Linked DNA regions of Homo sapiens: regions 2 and 3 are each linked to region 1. The links are contacts of gene promoters, found by promoter capture Hi-C in blood cells and fetal thymus (Javierre and others, 2016). All regions are on one chromosome and are shown on one strand. Each heading gives the region's core, a stretch centred on a gene start or on the middle of the fragment in contact. The rest is flanking DNA. Distances are from core to core; before and after follow the strand shown.

What was found. The method cuts DNA at HindIII sites, captures the fragments that hold promoters and counts their contacts. A CHiCAGO score of 5 or more calls a contact.
Region 2: a fragment that was not itself captured here is called in contact with the fragment with the promoter of KIAA1958 in region 1 in 1 of 17 cell types (naive CD8 T cells); the score reaches 5.3 in naive CD8 T cells.
Region 3: a fragment that was not itself captured here is called in contact with the fragment with the promoter of KIAA1958 in region 1 in 5 of 17 cell types (naive B cells, total B cells, naive CD8 T cells and 2 more); the score reaches 9.8 in naive B cells.

What each region holds. Positions count from the first base shown.
Region 1 is chr9:112,484,005-112,488,076 of GRCh38, forward strand. It overlaps KIAA1958, which reads left to right and starts at 2,823. Exons shown (of 4, transcript NM_133465.4): 1 at 2,823-3,114. It overlaps HSDL2-AS1 (HSDL2 antisense RNA 1), which reads right to left and starts at 3,640. Exons shown (of 5, transcript NR_171779.1): 1 at 2,975-3,640; 2 at 2,386-2,537. RefSeq lists an enhancer at 2,302-2,361 and silencers at 2,792-2,851, 2,932-3,421. The HindIII fragment of the contact is 12,105 bases long and covers 1-4,072 here.
Region 2 is chr9:112,769,456-112,773,858 of GRCh38, forward strand. All of the region lies in intron 1 of SNX30 (sorting nexin family member 30), which reads left to right. Among named protein-coding and RNA genes, the nearest start is that of SNX30, 21 kb to the left of the region's middle. The HindIII fragment of the contact is 1,085 bases long and covers 1,871-2,955 here.
Region 3 is chr9:112,786,331-112,790,653 of GRCh38, forward strand. All of the region lies in intron 1 of SNX30 (sorting nexin family member 30), which reads left to right. Among named protein-coding and RNA genes, the nearest start is that of SNX30, 38 kb to the left of the region's middle. The HindIII fragment of the contact is 2,263 bases long and covers 1,306-3,568 here.

The sequences.
Region 1 (4,072 bases), core at 1,573-4,072:
AAGGGCATAATGCCTATAGACCTAATAAAAGCATAATCTCACAGGTCTCCTTTCTTCTCTCTTTCTCCTCTACTCCTCCTGAGTAGCTGGAACTAGAGATGTGGGCCACCATGCCCAGCTAATTTTTTTTTCTTTTTGTAGAGACGAGGGTCTCACTATGCTACCCAAGGTGGTCTCAAACTCCTGGCCTCAAGCAATCCTCCTGCCGCACCCTCCCAAAGTGCCGGGATTATGGCCCTCAGCCAACCCACTAGGTTTACTGTGATTGCTTTCTCTAGGATCTTCGTTTTTCAAGTCCTAGCTGCCTTAATAGACCTGACTCCAAATTTTGTATCTCCAGGCCAGTAAGACTGCCGGTAAGCTCTAGGGTGCTTCTTTCTGACTTCTACACTCCTAGACACAAATCAACAATGCCCTGAGAAGGAAAAGCGGCTGAGAATGCAGGACTCACTTCAGAGTATTTCTCTTCTTCCTGGGGGGCTCGTGGACTCTCAAGCCTTGGATGACAGGGTTGCTCTCCAATTGTTTTAAACAGACTTATTTATTTTTTTAAACAGCTTTCATCGTTCTCAGTGGCAGAGTTAGTTTGTTCAACAAGGTACCTCATCATGGTTGGATGCCTGCATCATTAAAAAAATTCATTGTAGTGAAATATCCTTTAAACAAATAAAATTAGATTTGTTTTGAAGTTGATTGTGGCAAAAACAATTTAAAATTTACCTTTGTAACTACTTTTAAGTGTACAGTTCGGTGGTGTTATATTTACATTATTGTGTAACATCTCTAGAAATTTTTCATCTTGCAAAATTGAAACTCTGTACCCAGTAAACATTATATCACCATTTTCCCCTCCCTCTACCCTCTAGCAACCACTATTCTACCGTCTTGTTTCCACAAGTTTGACATAATCCCACAGTTTACATACCTCTACATAGTTCATATAGGTCAAATCATAACAGTATTTGTCCTTTTGTGACTGGTTTATTGCACTTGGCACAACATCCTCAAGGTTCATCTATGTTGTAGCCTGTGATAAGATTTCCTTCCTTTTTAAGGCTGAATAATATTCCATTATATGTATATATCACATTTTCATTCATCTCTTCATCTGTTGATGAACATTTGGGCTGCTTCAACCTCTTGGCTATTGTGAATAGTGCTGCAATGAACATGAATGTGCAAATATCTCTTCGATATCCTGCTTTCAATTCTTTTGGATATTTACCCAGAAGTGGGATTGCTGGATCATATGGTAGCTCTAGTTTTAGTTTTTTGAGGAACTTCCCCACTGTTTTGCATAGTGGTGGTACCATCTACATTCCTATCAGCATTGCATAAGAGTTCCAATTTCTCCACAAGATCCCATCTTTAGAATATGCAGCAATTAACTAGGGGGTTTTCATTTTTGGTCTTTTTTGTTTGTACAAACATTATTGTGTCAACATTTACACAGATTTTAAATTTCAGCCTAGACCTGGAAGAGTGTTGATAGAGGAAGGTGTTAAGAACATCAACCGGAATCAGCTCTAGAGATGGAGAGGGGTTGGCAGAAGCTACCTAAAAGAGAACATGCTTGATGTGGTAATGAAGTTACCTGCTTGGATTCTGGACGACCCTGGATATTTTCTCCTTTGCTAAGAAGTTAGCTTCTTTCTCTCCCTCAAAAATATTCTTCTCTTCCCTTACCTACTCCAAGGGTACAAGTGACTGGGGTATGCCTGTCACAGATGAGGTGAGGCCAAGATGTGGGCACTACGTAAGGCCTGACAGATATGGTGTAAATGTTATTTATTACCATGATTACTGTTTTGGAGATGGTCAGTGCTGTAAATAGAAAGGGAGTTAAGAGCAGACTCTGAAGCCAGACTGTCCGGAATGAATCCAGGCTCCTCTAGCTACTATCTATGTGATGTTGAAAAAATTTCTTAATTTCTCTGTGCCTCAGTTTCCTTATCATAAAATGGCAATGTTAATAGCACCCACTATGTAGAGTTCTTAGGATTAAATAAATTAATATTCGCTAAGTACTCAGTGCAAACTGTGGGCACACAGCAAGTACTACGAAAGTGTTAGGTAAAATAAAGGTGGACCAAGCCTGGTAGCACCTAGCAAGTCCAGCTTCATCTTTGCTGTGCTGAGTCGTGTAGGTGGTGTTCTTGTGTCTCTGGTTTGCTGGAGGACCTAGTTTTAGTGTATTTTAGGTATCATTAAGCATCCCCGCTCCCTCGATGGGATAGGGGTGTGTGTGTTACAGGTGGTTGTTGGGCACCTTCACGGGGCAGCGGTGACTATGGGCTGTACGTAGTATCTCGGTAGAAAGTGTTAATGCACATCCCTGGGCGGAGAGGTAACTCTACTCAATGCGTTATAAGGGAAATCACACACCTCACGGATGGTGTAGGTTCTGTCTGCTCCTTGCGTTTCAGTGGAGGTGCACAGAGCTCCGGGGGGCATCGGGGACCGCGGGCCCAGGACGTGTAGTAGGGAGCAGTGCTGTACACTTCCTCGGACCATAGCGGGGACGGCGGGTTCCACACCTGTCGGGGCAGTAGGGACTGAGCTCGTGCGCGCGGAGGATGGATTGCTCCAACCTCTCGGTCCAGCGCGCCGGCCGCCGCGTGCGAACGTGTGTGCGGCAGGAGGCTCGATCTACACCTCCTCGGGGCAGCAACGACTGCGAGCTCGGTGCGTGCCGTAGGAGGTGTCGTTACACACTTCCTGTGGGTCTCGCCGACCACGGCGCGTTTCCGGTGCCGGCTGGAGCCCGGGGTCCGAGCCCCCGCCCCGCTCGCCGGCCCCGCCCCGGCCCGCCCGCGCCCCGCCCCCTGCCCGCCCGCCGCGCTCCGAGCCGGGCGCGCGGAGCTCGGGGCGCACGGAGCGGCGCGCGGCGGTCGGCCGAGCCAGGCTGGCGCCCCCGCCCCCCGCCCCGCTCCTCGGTCCGCCGCCCGCCGGGCGCCTTCCCCGCTCCACTTACCTTTGGTGCCCGGCCCTCTGGCCGCTCTCCTCCCGCCCTCGCGCCCCTTCGGCCCGTCCCGTCCAGCCCGGGCTGCCCGGCTCTCGCAGGCCCCCCCGCGCCGACCGCGTTCCTATGGACAGACGCACAGACACCTGCAGGTGGGTGAGAGCCCGCGCGCGGGGCGGGGACGAGTGCGCCGACGCCGCGACCCAGGCGGGGAGCCCCTTTGTGTGGGGGGCGGCCGCGCCGGGGTCGACTCTGCTTCCCCGTCAGCGGCCGCGCGGTGACCCGGCTGAACCTTCCTTTTGTCTCCTCTCGGGGGAGCGAGGCCGGAGCGAGGGCAGGGACCCGGGCGGCCGCTCGTCGGCAGCGCCGGGCTTGGGGGTGCGAGGCGCAGAGACCCCCGGTGGCGGCTCCGGTCCGCCTGCCCCGGGCCGCCCCGCCGCCCGGCAGCTCGGGTCTCAGCGGCGGCTGCAGGCGCAGTGCGTGGGGCTGGCGCCCCCGCTCCTGCTCTTGGGTCTGTCGGAGGTGGGAAGGAGGGCGGGAAGGAGGAGGAAAAGGTCTGTCCTCTTAGTTTCCAAGTCTTGAGATGCTTATGGAGAAAGAGAGGTGGTTCAGGGCTCTGCCCCACTAGTTTTCCTCCTCGGGTGGCTCGCCGAGGTGCGTTTGGGGCGTGTGTGAAGGAACGTGCATGGCTTCGCTCCCTTATTTATTGTTTCTAACGGAGGAGGGCTTTCTCCAAAAGGCTCTTCCGCCCCCCCACCCCCATCTGAGGCTGCGCACAGTGATTTGTGTTTGTTATCAAATATATCGAGAAATGTATTCCCCTGGGTAGGAGGAGGTTGGACTGAACAACGTCAAACCAAAATCAAAGAATGTTTTTGGTTCCTTCAAGTCTTTTTTTTTCTTTAAGGTTTTAGATTGGGACTTTAAAAAAAATGAACGTGGCTGTGATTTTTACAATTATATGTATTTAGTGTGTGTGCGTGTGTGTGTGTGTGTGTGTGTGTGTGTTTTGAAGTTTAGGAGTAAAGTTTTGTTTTTTCCCGAACTCGTTAGGATTCGCAAGACGGAATCCTCTCCCGACGAAATAAACAGCTAACAAGCCAGTCAGGT
Region 2 (4,403 bases), core at 1,163-3,662, 290 kb after region 1:
TGTCCATGCAGTCATCCTGAGGGCACAACTAAGGCATCTCTGTAGCTTGGCATGGACCAGGCACCACCCTGGCACAGACAGGAAGAGCTGAATCTTCACTTGGCTTCTGGGATTCCACTCACTGTTGGTTCCTTATGTACCTTACTGGCTGTTCCTCCTCTGTCTCCTTGGCTGGTTCCGTCTCATCTCCCTAGCTCTAAATGTTGGACTGCTGTAGGACTCCATTCTGATATGGCCTCTCTTCATCTGCATGGTGTCCCTAAGCAATCTCATCCAGCCTCACACATCTACACACTGATAACTCCAGGCCAGAAACCTCTCTCCTGAATTCCAAATTCCTGTCTCCCACTGCCTTCTTGATGTTTAACCCTGCATCTCCAACAGGCATGTCAAGCTAGTTATCTAGCTCACTCTTAATTCCAAGGATAAGCCTTGGAATTAGCCTCGGCTCTTCCCTTTTTCATCCCATACCTAAGCCATCAGCAAGTGCTTCTGAAATACCATGTCCAGAATCTCATCACTTCTCACTCTCTCCACTGCTGCTACCCTGACTGCTGTCATCCCCTCTTGCCTGCATTACTGTACCAGCCGCCTGACTCGTCTTCCTGCTTCCACCTTCCCACCTTCAGTCATATATCCAGGCAGCAACCGGAGGGATTATTTAAAACATAAGAAACATCAGTCGCATCATGTCTCTTGCTTTTTAAATTTAATTAATTAATTAATTAATTTTTGAGATGGAGTCTCACTCTGTTGGCCAGGCTGGAGTGTTGTGGTGCGGTTTCGACTCACTGCAACCTCTGTTTCCTGGGTGCAAGCAATTCTCCTGCCTCAGCCTCCCGAGTAGCTGGGATTACAGGCACCTGCCACCACACCCGACTAATTTTTTGTATTTTTAGTAGAGATGGGGTTTCACCATGTTGGCCAGGCTGGTCTCGAACTCCCGACCTTGTGATCTGCCCACCTCGTCCCCCCAAAGTGCTGGGATTACAGGTATGAGCCACCGCGCCTGGCCTCTTTTTTGCTTTTGCTTGAAACCATCCAGAGACTTCTCAGTTCTCACACATTCCCCTCAAATCCTCCATGGGCTCCAAGTACATGGGTAATCTGGCTCTGCTGCTTCTCTGGCCTCCGTCCACTTCTCTCTCCCCCTGCCCACTCCCTTGCCTCACGCCTTTTGGCCCAGACAGCCTGCAGGCTTGTTCATCTATTTCATTCAGGCCTCCCCCAACCTCCCTGTATAAACTAGTAGCAGCCCCTGGCCGGGCGCGGTGGCTCACGCCTGTAATCCCAGCACTTTGGGAGGCCGAGGCAGGCGGATCACGAGGTCAAGAGATAGAGACCATCCTGGCCAACATGGTGAAACCCCATCTCTACTAAAAATACAAAAATTAGCTGGGCGTGGTGGCGCGTGCCTGTAGTCCCAGCTACTCAGGAGGCTGAGGCAGGAGAATCTCTTGAACCCAGGAGGCAGAAGTTGCAGTGAGCCGAGATCGGGCCACTGCACTCCAGCCTGGTGACAGAGTGAGACTCTGTGTCAAAAACAAACAAATAAACAAACAAACAAAAAACAAACTAGTAGCAGACCCCTCCCTGCCCAGTTATTCTCCCCCTTTACCTGGCTTTAATCTTGCTTCGCAGAACTTAAACCACCAGACATACTTGGTTTACTTTCTCCAGTACTGTGCTGTAAACTTCTTGAAGGCAAGGGGCCTGATCTGGTTTGCTTATTGCTAAATTTCCATGCATGAACCAAACCTGGTATGGGTGGAGTATACAGATATTTGGTGACTCAATAAATGGACCCGTGCTAAATGCTGTGTGTATAAGGATACCTGTTGCAGTATTATTTTTAATAGCAAAAGATAAAAGCTTATATGGCTATTAGTAGGGTGCTGGTTTTGTAAACTATGGTAGTTTTTGAAATGTGGTATTAAAAGGAATAAGGCAGCCCTGTATATACTTATATGCAACAATGGAAAAAAACGTTAAGTTGAAAAAATGTATAAATCGTGTATAGTCTGTCTTGCGTGTGTGTGAAAGAATTTATGTCAGTATGTCTGCCAGCCTTGGAAGGATGCAGCATTGCTGTGTCAGAAGGGTCCTTCTCCCAGCCTTCAAGAGTATAGTCTCCCCGGGTGGCTATTTGACCAAATTAGGGAGAAAGAATCTTCCCTCTCTCTTTCTAATTTGGTTAATAATGGTTGATACCAAACAAACTCTGATCATGCTTCAAAAAAAGGGGCCAGTGAGGGCTCTCACTCATAGTCCTGTTGAGCAGTTATGACTGTTTTTGAGAAGGGATAACAGCCACATTTTCATAACTGCTCAAAACCCCAAAGAGATAAGGCTAAACTGTGACAAAGGGAAAAAAGAGACAGTGCTTTTCTGGTAGTTTTTCAAATCTGTTCAGGTCAAATATGGGTGAATGTTGGCTTGTGGTGAGTTTTACCCTTTCCCTCTGTGGTCAATTTTGTGAACTTTTTGTTCTGGCTTGAGACATTCTTTTTTTTCCTGGTTCAAGTCATGGAGCAGGGGCAAACCTTCGGTTGTTTCACAGTTGTCCAGACTTTATTGGACCCCATTTCATGCCCTTGCCCTCATCCTTCCTGGCAGAGGACTTTCCTTGCCTAGAACATTGCCAGTCTCCGTGAAAGAGGAAGAGGTGTTTTCAGCCCGGTGACGTTAGCTCTGTTCTGGTTTCCTTTAGAACAATCCTTATTCTAGTGAGGGGTTACTCTAGCTTCATTTCAGTTTCTCCCCAGAGAGAGGAACGACCAACTTGTCAACAAGTGGAAATGGAAGAAGTGTTTCTGGGAGGTGGCTCTGTTGGGGATTAGACTGACACCTCTTTGTAAGAGGATGCAGTTGAGTTGCCTTCACTCTTCTGCTGTAACCAGATCCTCCTCTCCAGGTGTGCTGGGAGACCTGGCACATTATTTTAGGTATTCTTGAAGCTTTTTGAGTAACCTAGAAAGTATCTCATATAGTATGATAGGCTAGACATTGTTTAGATTTGTGGATTGACAGGTGTGGGGCTGTGGTACTCGTGTGTGCGTGTGGAGATATCTAGGCGTGTCTCCCCTGCCATGGTTTGAGCAAAATGGTCACATCTTCACTTCCAGTCTGACTCTGAAGAACAAGGTAGCCACTGTATTTTGCTTTTCTCAAATCATTCAAATTCTCTTAGATTTTGCTGTACCCAGTACTGAGTGTGAGTAGAAAGGGTAATGTTTATTAAAGATACATTGCAGTATCCCAAGATCGTAAGTTATGAAAGCAATGTTTGCATTTCACATAAACCAGTTTTGTTACTACATAAACGAATATGTCTTCAAGTGTTGATCCTGGCGTGTTTGCTCCTTGATTTAAAACAAAAACACATTTCCCATTTTAAATTCTCCTTGTGTTTAAATTATGAAAAGGCTACTTGAAAAGTCTTGCTATTGATTTATTCGTGAATCAAGGAACTTCCCAGCTATCTGTAGATTTGTGGTGTTGCAGTAAATGGGTCAAGAGAATCTGTTAATCTGTTAATTGTGAGAAACAATGTTGCCAGAAGCTAAATGAATAAAGCATACTTACCACCTCTTGTTCCAAAGCAAGGAAGCACACTGTGTAAAGAAGTTGAGAATTGTTAGAGAGGTTGGTTAGAGCAATGTAGGTGTGAGGCCGTTGCAGCTGCGTAGAGAGAATAGAGCCTTTAGAGTTGGCCAAGGGAGTTCTAATATAATCACTTACTGGCTGGCAATCACTTACCTCCTCTGAACCCTGTTGTCCCATCCATAAAATGGGGTTAATAATAGTACCTGTCTCATAAGGTTGTTTTGATAGCTTAATAAGGTTATGTACAATAGGGTCCAAAATCTCTTCTCATAACTGATAGTCATAACTCATATGAACAACATACTTTATATGGCTACAAAGAAGATTATTTGCTTTTTTTTTTTAAGAGATAGGATCTCGCTTTGTCATTCAAGCTGGAGTGCAGTGGCGTGATTGTGGCTCACTGCAGCTTTGAACTCCTGGGCTCAAGCAATCTTCCCAAGTAGCTAAGACTTACATATATTTTGATAGATACTGATAGTAGGAATAGGTGCATCTTGAGGTGTGTGGTGTACCTTAAATATTCAGAAAGTAAAAGATGAAAGAAAAGGAAGAATGCTTTCTAGAATAGTAAGATTATATAGTGAGACTATGATAAAACTCAAGGCATATGGGGAAGGGGAAACAACCAGTTCTGCAGAAAGAGTACATAAATTGTGGAGAAGAAAATCCTGAGTGAGCTAGGATTCATTTACTATAAATTATGACTTCAAGGCCAAATTACAGATAGCCTTAACAAATAAGCAGCTCACAATAAATATTCACAATTATGTTATATTTATATTACCATGGATCTG
Region 3 (4,323 bases), core at 1,187-3,686, 300 kb after region 1:
GGCTGGTCTCGAACTCCTGGACTCAAGTGATCTGCCTGCTGTAGCCTCCCAAAGTGCTGGGATTATGGGCCTGAGCCACCCTGCCTGGCCTCTTGTCTCTTTTCTGACTTCATTTTACACCTCATAGTTTATAGCTAAGTAAGGCTGTAAGAGTTTTTTTTTCCTCATTCATTCCTTCACTTTCTTCCTTCTTCTGTGTCTGTCCCTCTCCTAGTAGTGCATGGCCCTTGTTTACAGAGCTCATTTCTGTCTCTGGACTCAGAATGCCCATGTGAGAGGGCAAGACTGTGTGACCAGTATTAAATTTAAGGCCCTTTTCTTTTACGTCTGTCCTTGACTTTTTTTTTTTAAACTTTTGAGATGGGGTTCCACCATGTTGCCCAGGCTCATCTCGAACTTGTGGGCTCAAGCAATCTGCCCACCTTGGCCTCCCAAGTGCTAGGATTACAGGTGTGAGCCACCACGCCTGGCCCCTTCTTGCCTTTTTAAAATTTTCTTTACCTCTCCTTGTCTGGTTACTTAGGTGTGAAACTCCTTTGAGCCATTTTGGTTTAGAATACCCTCTTCCTGTTTTTTCTCTTATTCTTTAATGTTTTAACTATGATCAGACTCTTGGTTCAGGGCCTTTTTCTTTTCCAGTGAACACGCTAACCATGGGAATAGAAATCACCCACATTCGGTCTGAGTCATGTCAGTGGGAATGTGGGAATTCGATCTGGGGCAGCCAGGTAGCCAGTCAGGTGGCGCTCCAGCCTGGAAGGCCATCTGTACTTTTGGGTTGTAGGCTAGCACACTTCAGGATTCTAAAAAGATGCTGTGTGGAAACTGTGTCTCAGGCCTCGAAAAGTTCCACGGAAAAACATCTCTTCTAGCTGCTTTGTGGTGAGATGCAGATCTAAATCAATACAACATTATTGAGTGCCACAAAACTAGTACTGTACAGGGAGAACCTGTTCTGTACGGGGAGAAAAAAATGAAGTGAAGACACTGTGGAAGGAAGTATGACCTATTTGAATGTAGTCACACGTTTCCTTCTCATTTAGCACATCCTCTTGTGTTCATTTTAGGTTTGGATTGAGGATTTAAGGACAGCCCCCAGCCCCATAGGTAGGGTATGGGTGTCACAAATCATTAAATGTGGAAGTACTATACTAGAGGGCAGTTTGAATTTGGGTAGCTCAGGTAGGTCGAAATGTATTTCTGTTTCCTATTTTTAGTTTAGAGAGACAGTTTAGAATCTGTCGTGATTTTTTTCCCTCCCTAGGTATTTTTGAGGCTCTAATAATTATAGGTTCTCTCCTAAGAAGCTTAGATGTAACATCTAAGCTCCCAAAGAAGATTGGCATTTGCATGTGCACATGCAAATGTTGGTGCATAATTTTTGGCCCCCAAGGTGCCTATGGGTTTCAGAGAGACAGTCCCTATTGTAGAGGAATGGTGAGTTTTCGGTAATTTTTGAGGCAAGGACGCTTTTTTTTTTTTTAAAGATGGAGTCTCGCTCTGTCGCCCAGGGTAGAGTACAGTGGCGCGATCTTGGCTCACTGCAACCTCTGCCTCCCGGGTTCAAGCAGTTCTTCTGTCTCAGCCTCCCGAGTAGCTGGGACTACAGACGCATGCCACCACACCTGGCTAATTTTTTTTTGTATGTTTACTAGAAACAGGGTTCTACCATATTGATCAGGCTGGTCTTGAACTCCTGACCTCAGGGGATCCACCCAAGGCAAGGACACTTTTAGTCTTGCTAAAAGTGCAAGGCTTTTGCAGCACATCTGAGAAGTGTGGGCTGTAAGAGTGGATTAACAGTAACCACTTGGCACCTGCTATTGGAAGTTGAGTCCTGCCCTGTTCCTCACTTGAGTGTTTTTTTTTGTCCTTGAGAAGGTTTGGGCTGGGGTGATGATTAATCAACAAGCACATACTCAGCTCTGTATGATATTTTGTTTCCTCTAGGCCTTTGTTCTGAAAACTCAAAATGCCGTTTTCTTGGACTTTCCTTAGGCACCTGACTTCTTAGGTCACATGCAGAGTGCACTCCGCGTGTGTAGTACCATGTCAGATGGTAGCACAGAAACATGTCAATGAGAACCAGGCTTTGTAAGATGAACAGATGGTACAGTTAAGAGGAATTGGGCGAAGGGTAGGAAAAGAACTATTGTTTATGAAGGGGTCGTTCTAGGCACCTTCTTCCTACCTAAGGAACGCCTGGATTGTGGTGTAGCACAGCCCTACCTGGGCTCCTCACACACCACTCGAGGGACCTCATGCTTGTTACGTATAAGACTTTTCCATATGTGTAATAGAGACAACTTGGATGATCTCTGGGGGCTTCTACACCCTAGACCCTTGTGTGATTTTGGTGCAGAAGTTTCAGTGGAGGAATGCCTTCCTTAGGTTTATAAGTTTTCAGTTGGCAAGATCCTGAGAATGAGGGTCAAAGTGGGCAGAAAAGAGAGCAGGATTTCAGGATTTTTTGTTTCTTTCTTGAGGCAGTGTCTTGCTCTGTGACTCAGGCTGGAGTGCAGTGGCACGATCTCGGCTCACCACAGCCTCAACCTCCTGGGCTTAGGTGATCCTCCCACCTCAGCCTCCCCAGTAGATGGGACCACAGGCATGCGCCACCACGCCCAGCTAATTTTTGTATTTTTTGTAGAGATAGGGTTTCACTATGTTGCCCAGGCTGGTCTTGAACTCCTGGGCTCAAGCAATCCTCCTGCCTTGGCCTCCCAAAATGCTGGGATTACATGAGTGCGCCACTGCACCTGGCCCCGAGAACAGGATTTTAGGTCGAGTTGTGTTCTCTTTGTTCGTGCCCTCTGGAAAGGTGCATTCTGTCTTTGTAGAAAGCTGTCTGCTTGTTCTGTTGAGTCCTCCAGGTGGCATGCACATCCTTGACCAGCAGCAGAGGAAGAATTTTTGTGTTGGGGATCTTAGTTATTGTTAGGAACAGGCTCTCGGAAATGCCTCTCGCCCTTGATTTTTGGGGATTTCTCAGCCTGGAATGTCCTGGCCAAGCTCTCCCCCAGCCTTGTTTTTCCATTTGGCAAGTCTACTTATTCTTCTCAAGTTGCCCCCATCCATTCATGGAGCTCTGTTCATAGCCACTATTGCATTGCATCAGAGTTAGAGGTCTCATGTCCATATTCCCAACTAAAGTTATTTAAACACAGATGCTATATTCTGTTTTGTTTGGTAGCACTGCATTGGGATTTTGGCCTTGTGTATTCGGTGTTTAGTATATGCTTGAAATACTGGATCTTCCTTAGAAGGAATGAACAGGAATTGTGTATGGTAAATGCAGCTGAGAGTTGGGGAAAATCTTGGCTCCTAAGAATCATAAGAATGTCTGGAGAAGTGAATGTTAGTCTGGAGATTCTTAGAAAAATCTATTAACAGACACTGGTAAGTTTGCCAAGGAATGTGGACCTGGATTCTTTCATTTTGACTTTATGATCTTGTTAAGAAGTGTTCTTTTGCATCAGGCCAATGGGTAGAATTTGCTTGAAGGGCAGATTTTCTAATAGAAAACCTATGAAAAACATTTTCAGTTTCTAAACAACTTTAGTGACAAAGCTTTGAAACAGGTGATCTCTTAAACCATGTCTAAAGAAAAAGCCTTGCCTTATGAAAAATGGTCCTGAATCCAAAGTAGAAACACATAAAACTGTTCAGGGGGGATACTAACTTAGAAACCATAGGCTATGGGCCTTGGGAACTTGGAGATACTTGTACAAGCAACCTTGGAGTTTTTGGAGAATATTTGAGATGGGAATTCCTGGGCTGTGTGGCAAGGGAAACTGAACTTCCTACTAATAAGCAAGTAGCAGTGCAGAACTTGAGACTTACTATCAATAGTTAAGATACATTTGAATAACTCTCCAAAACAAAAGATAAATCTCTATGTCTTAATATTCCCTACTTTTTATATCACTGTGTCCTATTTAGACTGTTAAAAATTATACAGACATTTTAATGATTATATGTACTAGTCAGCTTTGCTGTGGTAATAACTCCAAAAATGCTAAGGTGTGCAACAAACATGTATTTCTAGGTCATGCCGTGTGTCAGTGGCTGTGAGTCAGCTTCTCTGGCCCTCTCCTGCAAGTCTTCCCATTCCAAAGGAGCAGCCCCTGTTTGGGACACACTACTTTCAAAGTCGAGGAGCAAGGGAGCTGGTGGAAGCATGCGTTGGCTCTTAAAGGATCTGCTCTGATCCGATGTACATTCATGTACCATGTACCAGTGGCTGGAGCAAGTCACGTGTCCAAGGCCAAAGTCAGTGTGGTGGGGATGTGTCTTCCTGTGGGAAGTCACTTGGCAATAAGA